Linked DNA regions of Homo sapiens: regions 2 and 3 are each linked to region 1. The links are contacts of gene promoters, found by promoter capture Hi-C in blood cells and fetal thymus (Javierre and others, 2016). All regions are on one chromosome and are shown on one strand. Each heading gives the region's core, a stretch centred on a gene start or on the middle of the fragment in contact. The rest is flanking DNA. Distances are from core to core; before and after follow the strand shown. Region 1 holds the start of FMNL1 (formin like 1). Region 2 has its middle 4.8 kb from the start of SPPL2C. Region 3 overlaps MAPT-AS1 (MAPT antisense RNA 1).

Region 1 (3,652 bases), core at 278-2,777:
CCAGGTCAGCCTGGGGGAAGGGGCTGGCTCCTTCCAGGGTCTTCCTCCAGATTAGATGTTAACTCTCCGTCTCTTGCTTAAAGTCTTGTCAGTGGCTCTGAATGTGAGGGCAGAAGGAGGAGGATGCTGTCAGGGGAGGGGACACTAATGGCTCCTGACCTGGCCTAGAGATAATTCGGGGCTCCTTCAGCGGGCCCTCCCTCCTCAGTGCCCTGGAAGTGTAGGGAGGGGTCAGTTGGGGATCCCCACAAATTAAATGGGGAATGAGAGGAGCAACTGAAAGTCTCAAATTCAGGCTATAGATGGGACCCCAGCCCCCCATACTCTCCCGTCCTACATGAGATGGGCAGTGGAGGGCCAGGACAGCAACTCCAAGCCAGTGTAGGTTTTGGAGGTAGACAGTGAGGAGGCTTGCTTCTGTCCTTTGTTAGCTGAGTGCCCTTGGACAGCTTACTTACCTACTCTCAGCCTCAGTTTCCCCATCTCTAAAATAAGGCTACCAATACCTACCTTCTCTGGCCATTGTCAGGATGAATGAAAGAGCTCTGAAAGTATTTCTGTAATTAGCAGACATCAGAGATTGTTATTCTCCAAGGTAAGAGGCCCCCCTAGATCCCTGGCGGTGACAGTGTCAAGATTCTTTTTCCCTCCTCTGCGGTGCCCACTCCTTTTCCAGCCTTGTGGCTGGCTCTCATCCTCCTTTCCGCAACCCCCCACTCCTCCTTGGGACCACCTTGGCGGGCCCAGCTTCTCGCAGCCTGCCATATTCCATAGGTGCCCCCATTCTAAAACCTGTAGGGGTGCCCTGCACAGGCGCACGGTTGGTCGAGGTGGGACAGGTGGCGGGGGTCTCCACTGGCCTGCGTCCGCGCCCCCCACCCTGTTTAGGAGTTCCTGTTTGGAGATGGCTCCCCCTCGTCCTCAGCTCGTCTCTGGGCTAAGCAGGGGAGGAGAGAAATAAAAGGTGGGGGGCCTGGAAGGGGGTTCCCACCTTCTCAGTCCGGGACGCGAGACGGGAACGCAGCCCTGGCGCCCCAACGCTGCACCACCGTGGGTCTCCGAGCCGTGCTCGCAGTCGCTGAGATCCTCGGTGCGGAGAAGATGTGCCCCTCCAATCCCCAGGCCGTGATCCCCTTCACCCAGACCCGGCCAATCCCTCGCCCGAGGCGAGCGGGAGGATGCGGTTCTAGGACCCGGAGGCGCCGCCGAGCGCGCCGCCGCCTCGGCCTCGCCTCGGTGGCCTCCCGCTCCGGCAGGTGAAGCGGCGCCGGCCGCCCCCTCTGCGGCAGGTGAAGCGGCTCGGCAGCCCACTCCCCGCCCGCCATGGTTGCGGGGGTCCCCCGGCCAGCGCCCGCCCCCTCCCTCCAGCCCGCCCCCCTGGGGCTGGGTGCCCGGCGGCGGCGGCGGCGAACTGCGGTTTGCGCGCACGGGGAGCGACAGCAGAAGTTCGAAAATCGCCGAGGGGGGAGCCAGCGCCGCAGCTTCCTGCCCCCGGCCCAGCCCTCTGGCCCCGGCGGCCTGCAGCCTGACTTCCTCCCCCAACCCTGCAGCTCGCCGCCCGGTCCCACGGACGGGGCCGCCCCGATGGGACGCCGCGCTCCGGCCCCTGCGCGCCGCTGAGCCGAGCGCCCCCCGCTGCCGAGACCCCCGCCGCCACCGCCAGCCGCTGCCCCCTCGCCCCCGCCCGGGCCGGGAGCCTCGTCCCCGTCCCCCGGAAAGCTGGATTTCCGAGGCTGGAGGCGCCTGGCCGGCTGGGTGGGGACCACCATGGGCAACGCGGCCGGCAGCGCCGAGCAGCCCGCGGGCCCCGCCGCGCCGCCCCCCAAGCAGCCCGCGCCTCCCAAGCAGCCGATGCCCGCGGCCGGAGAGCTGGAGGAGAGGTTCAACCGCGCCCTGGTGAGTGCGACCCGGAGGCGGGTCGGGCGCGGGCGGGGGGCGGCAGGGGCGCGGCAGGGGCTGGGCGCGCGTCCCCGCCCCCGGGGACTCAGGTGCCGCTTGGAGATCCCCGGTCCGGCAGCTGCCCCCTCCAGGAGGTGGGAGCGACAGTGGCCTTTTTTTCAGAGTGACTTAGCACTCTCCCCCCAAAACTTTCTTCAGTTATCGCCCGGTCTCCCTCCCTAAGACGCCTCCACCCCAGCTGGGTCTTAAGGTCTAAACAAGTATGTCCTGTGAAGAAGTTGGGAGCGGGGCACGCACAGGGGTCCCGGGTCGCCCCCTTCCCCACTGCACGCAGGCCCAGCCACCGGGCGCGGGTCTGGGGCATCTGCCTTTCTGTGTCTGGAGTCAAAGATGAAAGGGTTACAACCTCCCGGGAGCGGGAGACCTGCTGGAGGTGTTGGGTCCTGATTTGTTGGGCGCCTGGGCTGCGGGGAATGGGGTTGTCGGATCATGGCCAGGAGGTATCTGTGTTTCTACCCCGCCATATGTCAGAGCCAGGGTGCCTGTGGGTCTTTATCTTGGGGCATCCTTTCCAAGCCACTGAAGGGAGTAAGATGAGGGAGGGTGGGGTCAGGACGGGTGGGTCGCCCAGGCTAGGGGTGGAGCAAAATCTGGAACCACCCCCCTCTGTGCCTACCTGGGGAATTGGAGCGGGGTCGCTGGGGAATAGGTCTCTGGGAGGGAACCAGCAGCTCAGGCCGAGCCTGGAAACAGTCAACATGTTCAGTGGGGTGGGGGCTCCAGAGCAGACTCAGGGGTCTCCAAGACCCTGCATAAGGCAGAAGTAGGGAGAGGAAGAGCTGCTCACTCTCACTCTCCCCACCCCCGACGCCCTGGCCCTGGCTCCCTCCTCTAACTAATTGCCTGGTGGCCTGCCTGCTGTCAGCCTTCCCTTGCTGGACGCTGGGTGACAGGCAAAATGAGGCTGTGCCTTCTCCCAGATGCATTTCCCAGTCCCTGCAGGTCTGAGGGTGGGGGCTCAACGGAGACACAGGCCGCAGAGGGTTCTGGCTCAGTTGGTGGCCCTCCATCTCCTTGACATCATTTCCCCTCGCCTGGCTGGTCATTAGGCCATACGTGCTAGATCCTCAGCATGGCTCCAGAGGGTCACCTCCTAACAGTTCCTGAAAATGTTGGCTTCTGTCCTCTCCCAAGAGAAGGCTGGGGGGAGTTTGGAGGAGCTATGGGGTGGCGAGGGATCCATCCTTGTGAAGACACCTTGCTTGATTAGAGGAGGGCAGGGACACTGAGGGACGCCTCACACCAGGCTGGCCCCTGACTTCTCCATCTCTCCACCTGCCCTGCTCCCCGCTCCCCAAGCATAGGACTTCACAAAGCTGAGCTGAGCTGAGCAGATGGGGGAGGGGGGAGAATGAGGAGACACAGTCTCTGGGGGCCATCTGGAGAGCCTGCATTGGTGGTGGGTCCTTGGACCCCTGCCAACCTGGTTGGAGGGACATGGGTCTGTCTTTCCGCCAAGTGTGTGTCTATGGTCGCGGGTGTGGGCTCTTGGGGTGAGGTCCTGACCCCAATCTTCTGTTTAGCACGCTGATGGGGAGGAGCCCTGTGAATAATTCAGACCAGGGGAAAATCCACAAGTCAAATGGTGAGGTTCTGATGTGTGTGTAGGACTTGTTTGCCCTGCTTGGATTTGTGGCTGTGATTGGCTGAGTCTGACACTAAATGCCACTGGGAGTCCCTGAGTACCAGGATG
Region 2 (3,755 bases), core at 1,188-3,687, 620 kb after region 1:
CAGAACAGTAGTGGAGGAAAAGCCCCACTGTTTTTCCAGTTCAGGCCACCCCCTCCCCGTCCCTTAGTGTGACAGCACAGCCCCTGCCCAGAGGTCCTCAGCCTCCCCTCCAGGCCTCCTTCTCTAGCCCCCTGCTACTGATGGCTCAGCTCTCCTGGGACCAGGACTGGGTGGAGAGTCAGATGGGGAAAACCATGTGTTAGCAGATGAGGTGGGTTTGGAATCCATAGAATAATACCTTCATTGTGGGTATTGTAGATTACTTTGCCATCCACAAACATCCTTATAACATTTGTCTTTTTTTTTTTTTTTTTTTTTTTTACTACGTGGGTAAATCTCTGTTCGGGGCTCTCAGCTCTGAAGGCTGTGAGACCCCTGATTTCCCACTTCACATCTCTATATTTGTGTGTGTGTGTCTTTATTTGTTTATTTTTATTATACTTTAAGTTCTAGGGTAATCCTCAACTAGCCCACAGAGGTAGTAACCCACCTGTTTTGCAGCCAGGGAAACTGAGGCCTGGCAGCTCCCCTAAGATTGAAGGTCTGGTTCCAAGTCTAAGGCTTTTTTCACCCCTCAGTGAACTGAAGGGGCTTGGGTTCTGGGAGGCCAGAACCAATGAAGAGCTCTGTGGCAAGAGGGCAGCAAGGAGGCCTCAGGGTCTCCGTGATCTGGGACGTGCCCCACGTGAAGATGGGACTTCCCCAAAGATGGCCCCACCAGTGTCCAGCCGCCGAGCAATGAGAGTTCTGTGGATCCAGCATCTCCTTCCCCAGCTTCCTGACATCCTCCACCCCCCAGCTCCTTAAAATGATGCTTAATTTCAAACAATGCAGCCGGGGCCACCATCAGCCACAGTGGGCCCCCCTACACCCCAGCCAAGGAGTGTGCTGCTGGCCTCCAGCCCAGGGGTACCTCAGAGCCAGCTCATCCAAACTGCCAACTGACTTCCAACTCAGCTGCCCACACTTGCTTCAAACCGAGGAGAATGCTTTCTACAATTTGCTAACAGCAACACTGATCATTATTGATTGTTTACCGGGCATCAGGTGCTGCTTAGCCCCTCACATGTTTATCTCATTGACTCTTTATACTGCCCTATGAGGCGGGGCTGTTATCCCCATTTAACAGATAAGGCAAATAAAACCCAGAGAGGTTAAGATACCTGCCTGATGGCACCCACGGATGGATGAAAAGCCAGGGAGGCCACACTAGGCATCCGTGAAGCTTAACCCCTATGCAGTGGGAGTTCTTAGTAAGGCTGTCCTCCCAGCCCCACTGCCCCTTCCAATCCCCTCCCCAGGGAAATCCTTCCATCCCCAGTCTGTGGTCAAACAGCATTCAGAGATGAGCTAGCTGAAGGAATTGGAGCCTGCGGAGCGTGGGCCTCGGGCAGCCCACTCCCCAAATCTGGCCTCCAAGCCAGCTCCACCTGCCAGTCTCCCGTCCCCAGCCCCATCCCAGCTCTACCTCAGAGCATCACCTCCCACCCCTGCCCTCAGCTCACCAACACCTGCAGGTCCTGCTGGCAGACCAGGCTCAAGAGAGGCCTGGGCCATATATATTTATCAAAGCTCTCAGTGGCTTGGGAACACCAATGAGACTATTATTTGGAGATAAGGCCAGAGACCACCCTTGGCTGCCAGATAGCAGCCCTACCGGCTTCTGTCCCTCCAAGGGGTCCTTGACTGATCCCTGCTGCCCAGCCTCATTGCCCATTGGGCCAAGGCAGGTGGAGCAGAAGAAGGGGTGGTGGCCTCTTAGGTGCCTAAGGAGCCCAGGTTGGGGGCACGGCAGGCATCAGCTAGGGTGAGGGGGCATGGGGGCAGCAGCTGGTGGGCCTGCCTGGCTCATCCTCATCACAGGGGAAGGGGGAGGGAGTGGATGGCAATCCACTCTAGAACATGCAGCGGGGAAGCTGCTGGGCAGGGCAGCAAGGGCAGGTGAGGGGCCAGGTGAACTAGGCCCCTTCCCCACCCTTCCTGAGACCTGCTGCCTGGGGCCTGCTGGCCCTGCTGCCCTGTGTGTTGAAGATAAATGTTCCAGGTGCACCTAGGTCCTCAAGTAGAAGGCAGAGACACTACCCCAGCCTGCTCTGGGCAGCCACCCCGAGAGCCCAGGCCATAGCTGAGGGGGCAGTAGGGTGGGGGGAGGGAGGGGGAGTTGTGGGGAGCAAAGTCACAGATACAGGGGGTGCCCTCCAGGAAAGGAGTTGAATCTGGAGTGGGGGTGGGGAGGGTGGCGGGACTGAAGTCTTGGAGCGGGATTTCAGCCTGGCAGTGGGCCATGGCCCCAAGGGGCATCAGCCACTCATGTGAGGGCACTGACCAGTGCTCTGAGTGGCCACCAGAGGAATGATTCCAGGGCTGATGGATGGGGGTGGGCACAGGGATGGGGGACCTGGGGAAGCAATGATCAAACATACCCACGAAAGCCTTCTGTGAGTGGGGTCCCAGGCAGAGTCTCGGAGGGAATGAGCCTTCTGCGAATTATCTGGGCCCTGGGCAACCAGTCCACGGGTAGATCTGGGAGAAGGGGCAGGAGCAAGCTCTGCTTGAGGTGTCTGTGCAGACCCCCAAATTGGGGCATGTGCTGGTGTGATGGAGTCCAGAAGAACTAAAATGAGACCTGTCCTGAGGAGAGAGCAGCTGGAGGGGACTGGAGTTGCTCCATTTCGTCTGGGCGCTGTGGCTCACACCTGTAATCCCAGCACTTTGGGAGGCCAAGGTGGGTGAATCACTTGAGGCCAGGAGTTCGAGACCAGCCTGGCCAACATGGTGAAACCCTGTCTCTCCTAAAAATACGAAAATTAGCTGGGCATGGTGGTGGTGCATGCCTGTAATCCCAGCTACTCGGGAGGCTAAGGCAGGAGAATCACTTGAACCCGGGAGGTGGAGGTTGCAGTGAGCTGAGATTGTACCACTGCACTCCAGCCTGAGGGACAAGAGCGAAATTCCATCTCAAAAAAAAGTCCCATTTCAACCATGTTAGTGCACAATTCAGTGACTTTAAATACACAATGTCGTGCAACTGAAACCACTGAGATAGAAAAAGTTCTGGAACTTCTTCATCACCCCAGATGGAAATCCCATACCCACCAGTCACTCCTCATTCTCCCCTCCCCCAGCCCCTGCCCGCCACGAATCTGCTCTCTGCCTCTGTAGATCTGCCTGTTTTGGCTGTTTCACGTAAGTGGAATTAATCGTACAATATGTGTCCTTTTGTGTCTGGCGTCTTCATTTAGCATAATGTGTTTCCACTTAGCATAATGTGTTTCGGCTTAGCATAATGTTTTCAAGGTCCATCCACATGGTAGCAGGTATCAAAACGTCATTCCTTCTTATGGCTGAATGCTATTCCCTTGTGTGGAGAGACCGCAGTTTCTCCATTCATCAGTGGATGGACATATGGGTTCTCTCCACCTATTCCAAGTTATCATGAATAGTCCTGCTATGAGCATGCATGTACACGCTTTTGTTTGAAGGCCTGATTTCAATTCTTTGGGATATATAGCTGGGAGTATAAGTGCTGGGTCATATGATAACTCTGCTTAACTTATCTAGGAACCACCAAGCTGTTTCCTGCAGCGGCTGCACAATTTTCCATTCCCACCAGCAGTGTATGAGGGTCCCAACTTCCCTATATCCTCGACAAAGCTTGTGATTGTCTGGGTTTTGTGACAAAGTGGGTGTGCTGGTTCTTGTTTTTTAAAAGATCCACGACTCCCTGCGTGGAGAACAGGGCCTGGAGTGAGGGT
Region 3 (4,150 bases), core at 1,381-3,880, 630 kb after region 1:
GTGAACTCAGGCAGGAGGGGCCACACCTGAGAACCCTCACCCATCACAGCCCAGGTTCTCTTCCCGGCTATCCCCCGGGACAGCCCCAGAGCATGAGCCAAGGGAGTCTGGTCTCCACCTACCTTGCTTAATCCTTAAAGCCAGTTGTGACACATTGAATAATGTCCTCCCCCAAAAATTTGGAACCTGTGATCATTACCTTCCATGAAAGGGAGCAAAGGAGAAAGGACTTTGCGGAAGTGACTAAGCGAAGGATCCTGAGATGGGGAGATAATCCTCTATCGTCCTAGCGGGCCCTAAACGCAAGCACATGGGCCCTTATGAGAGAGAGAGGGAGAGAGAGAGAGACAGAGACAGAGGAGAAGCTGGGCGCAGTGGCTCACGCCTGTAATCCCAGCACTTTGGAGCCCAAGGCAGGTGGATCAATTGAGGTCAGGAGTTTGAGACCAGACTGGCCAACACAGCGAAACCCTGTCTCTATTAAAAACACAAAAATTAGCCAGGCATGGTGGCACATGTCTGTAATCCCAGCTACTTGGGAGGCTGAGGCAGGAGAGAAAGCTTGAATCCCAGAGGCGGAGGTTGCAGTGAGGGGAGATTGCACCACCGCACTCCGGCCTTGGTGACGGAGTGAGACTCCATCTCAATAAAAAAAAAAAAGAGAGAGAGAGGACTGGGTGCAGTGGCTTATGCTTGTAATCCCAGCACTTTGGAAAGCCGAGGCAAGTGGATCACCTGAGGTCAGGAGTTCGAGACCAGCTTGGACAACATGGTGTAACCCTGTCTCTACTAAAAATACAAAAATTAACCGAGCATGGTGGTGGGTGCCTGTAATCCCAGCTGCTTGGGAGGCTGAGGTAGGAGAACTGCTTGAACCCGGGAGGTGGAGGTTGCAGCGAGCCGAGATTGCGCCACTGCACTCCAGCCTGGGCAACAGAGCGAAGCTCTGTCTCAAAAAAAAAAAAAAAAAGAGCTAGAGAGAGAGACAGAGGAGACAGCAGGATTACACACATGGAAGTGGAGAAGGCAATGTGGTGATGGAGACAGATTGGAGTGATGTGGCCACAAGCCAAGGACTGCCAGCAGCCAGCACGAGCTGGAAGGGGTAAGGAATGAATTCCCCCTAGAGCTTCCAGAGGGAACACAGCCCTGACCCCTTGATTTCAGCCCAATGATCCTGATTCCAGACTTCTGGCCCCCAGAGCCGTGAGAGGGTATATTTCTGTCGTTTGAAGCCATCAGGCGTGTGATCATCTATACAGCAGCCACAGACGCGAATCCAGGGTTCAACAGACATCTGTGGCACAGGCTGCCCTTGCGCCCAGAGCTGTGCCTGAGAAGTAAATGGCTCACAGAGCAGACAAGATGAAGACATAACCCAACCACAAAAGCCCCCTGGCCCGCCGGGTATACTTTCCTGCAGGGGAAAGGTGGGCACAGGGGAGTCAGGGAAAGAGAGGCGAGAACTGGAGTCTTGGCTGCAACAGCCAGTGAGTGCATTCTCAGTTCAAGCCACTGCACTGGGCTCCAGGGACTTCTTTCCACTGTTATTGATTGCACTCTAGAGGAAAATTGGAAAGCACAGGAAAGTAGAAAAAAAAATCCACATTACTATAAGCTTTTGTTTTATTTCCATCCAGTCATTTGTTTTCCCCACGCATAAGGGTTTGGTTTTGTTTTTATTTTTTTAATTGTGGTAAAATACACATAACAAAATTTATCAAAGTGTACAGCTCAGCAATATTATTGAATACACTTACAATGTTGTGCAACTAGCACCACCATCCATTTCTAGAACTCTTCATCTTGTCAAACGAAATTCCATACCCACAAACAATAACTCTCATGCCTTCCTCCCCAGCCTCTGGCAACCACCATTCTACTTCCTGTCTCTATGATTTTGACTACCCTAAGTGCCTCATATAAGTGGAATCACACAGAATTTGTCTTTTTGTGACTGACTCATTTCATTTAGCATAATGGCCTTAAGGCTCATCCATGTGGCAGCATACTGCAGGATTCCTTTCCTTTTTAAGGATGAGTAACATTCACTGTGTGTATGCACCACATTTTGCCTAGCCATTCATTCCTCTGTTGGTGGAAACTTGGGTTACTATAAACATTGGTGTGCAAATATTAGATAGTGCAAAATTTATTGTGGTTTTTGCCATTACTTTCAATATCTCTGAGGCCCTGTTTTTAGTTCTTTGGGTTATATACCCAGAAGTGCAATTTCTGAATCACATGGTAATTCTATGTTCAATTTTTTGTTTATGTATGTATGTATGTATTTATTTATGTATGTATGTATGTATGTATGTATTTATTGGGAATGGGGTCTTGCTGCATTGCTCAGGGTGGTCTCGAACTCCTGGGCTCAAGCAATCCTCCCTCAACCTCCCAAGTAGCGGGGATTACAGGCATGAGCCCCTGGCTTTATGGTGTTTGTTTGTTTGTTTGTTTGAGACAGGGTCTTGCTCAGTAATCCAGGCTGGAGTGCAGTGGCACGATCACTGCTCACTGTAGCCTTGACTTCCTGGGCTCAAGCAATCCTCCCACTTCAGTCCCCCAAGTAGCTGGAACTACAGGTGCACACCACTATGCATGGCTAATTTTTTTTTTTTTTTTTTTTAGTGGAGATGCGGTCTCACTATGTTGCTCAGGCTGGTTGTGAGCTCCTGAGCTCAATCGATCCTCCTGCCTCAGCCTCTCAAAGTGCTGGGATTACAGGTGTAAGCCACGGTGCCCAGCCTCTGTTTAATTTTTTAAGAGATTGCCATACTGTTTCCATAGAGACTATAGCATTTTACATTCCCACCAATAGTGCACATGTGTTCCAATTTCTCTACATCTTCATCAATACCTATTTTCTGGTTTTGGGTTTTTGTTGTTGTTGTTTGTTTGTTTGTTTGTTTTGAGACAGAGTTTCGCTCTTGTCGCCCAGGTTAGAGTACAGTGGCACGATCTCGGCTCATGCAACTTCCACCTCCTGGGTCCAAGCCATTCTCCTGCCTCAGCCTCCCAAGTAGTTGTGGTTACAGGTGTGCACCACCACGCCTGGCTAATTTTTGTGTTTTTAGTAGAGACAAGGTTTCACCATGTTGGCCAGGCTGGTCTCAAACTCCTGACCTCAGGTGATCCATCTCCCTCAGCCTCCAAAACTGCTGGGATTATAGGCATAAGCCACCATGTCCAGCCAATTTTCTGGGGTTTTTTTGTATTGTTTTTTTGTTTTTTTTTTTTAATAGCAGTCTTCTTAATAGATATGAGGTAATATCTCATTATAGTTTTGATTGGCATTTTTCTAATGCTCATTTTTCCATGTGCTTATTGGCCATTTGTCTTTTTAAATGGAGAAATGTATTTTCAAAACCTTTGTCCTTTTTTGAATCAGGTTGTTTGTCTTTTAGTTGTTGAGTTTTAGAAGTTCTCTATATATTCTAAATATTAATCCTTTATCAGATATATAATTTGCAAATATTTTCCTCCATACTGTGGGTTGCCTTTTTACTCTGTTGATAGTGTCTTAGGATTAACAAAATTTTTTTAACTTTTATGAAGTCTAGTTTTTCTTTTTTATGAAGTCTGTTGTCTGTGCCTTTGGTGTCATATCTAAGAAATCATTGCCAAATTCGATGTTGGTAAGCTTTTGCCTGATGTTTTCTTGTAAGAGTTCCATGCATAGGTTTATTATTTGTTCATTTCAGTCCCAAGATGTCATCTGTCACCCAGGCCATCTGAATCCTTGTTAAAGAAAAGGGCACAACTGTTCTTTGTCATGTCCATCCAGCTGCAGGACTTCTGATACCTCCCTACCATTTGTCAAACCAACCCCAACTCCTCAGCCTGGTGTTTAAGGCCATCTGCATCCAGCCTTCCCTCCTGACTGGCCTTCCCTCCACTGGCCCCTATACATCCTGTTCACATGGCTCTTCTCACACGCTCACCCTTGCTCCGTGCCTCTGCTCACCTGGAATGAGCTTCTTCCACCTTCCTCTAATTCCTATAAACAAGAATCCACTGAGACAGTCCACATTCCAGGGCCCCTGTGCTGGGCCCTGTCCAAGGTCCTGGAGATGAACATAAACAAGATGTGAGAGTGGCGGGAGAGGGTCATGGATGCATTCTCTTTAAGACTCTTTCGGCTTTG

The links. The method cuts DNA at HindIII sites, captures the fragments that hold promoters and counts their contacts. A CHiCAGO score of 5 or more calls a contact.
Region 2: a fragment that was not itself captured here is called in contact with the fragment with the promoter of FMNL1 in region 1 in 1 of 17 cell types (endothelial precursors); the score reaches 6.0 in endothelial precursors.
Region 3: a fragment that was not itself captured here is called in contact with the fragment with the promoter of FMNL1 in region 1 in 1 of 17 cell types (endothelial precursors); the score reaches 6.1 in endothelial precursors.

The regions. Positions count from the first base shown.
Region 1 is chr17:45,220,358-45,224,009 of GRCh38, forward strand. FMNL1 (formin like 1) reads left to right here and starts at 1,528. Exons shown (of 27, transcript NM_005892.4): 1 at 1,528-1,896. The coding sequence starts at 1,768. FMNL1-DT (FMNL1 divergent transcript) reads right to left here and starts at 1,408. Exons shown (of 3, transcript NR_147507.1): 1 at 992-1,408; 2 at 1-97. RefSeq lists silencers at 1,103-1,552, 1,563-1,612, 1,893-2,002, 1,925-2,219 and enhancers at 2,066-2,566, 2,567-3,067, 3,403-3,472. The HindIII fragment of the contact is 10,145 bases long and covers 1-3,652 here.
Region 2 is chr17:45,838,192-45,841,946 of GRCh38, forward strand. No RefSeq gene overlaps it. Among named protein-coding and RNA genes, the nearest start is that of SPPL2C, 4.8 kb to the right of the region's middle. RefSeq lists a silencer at 2,257-2,466. The HindIII fragment of the contact is 2,429 bases long and covers 1,224-3,652 here.
Region 3 is chr17:45,854,149-45,858,298 of GRCh38, forward strand. The region is part of intron 1 of MAPT-AS1 (MAPT antisense RNA 1); the gene reads right to left. Among named protein-coding and RNA genes, the nearest start is that of SPPL2C, 11 kb to the left of the region's middle. The HindIII fragment of the contact is 2,028 bases long and covers 1,617-3,644 here.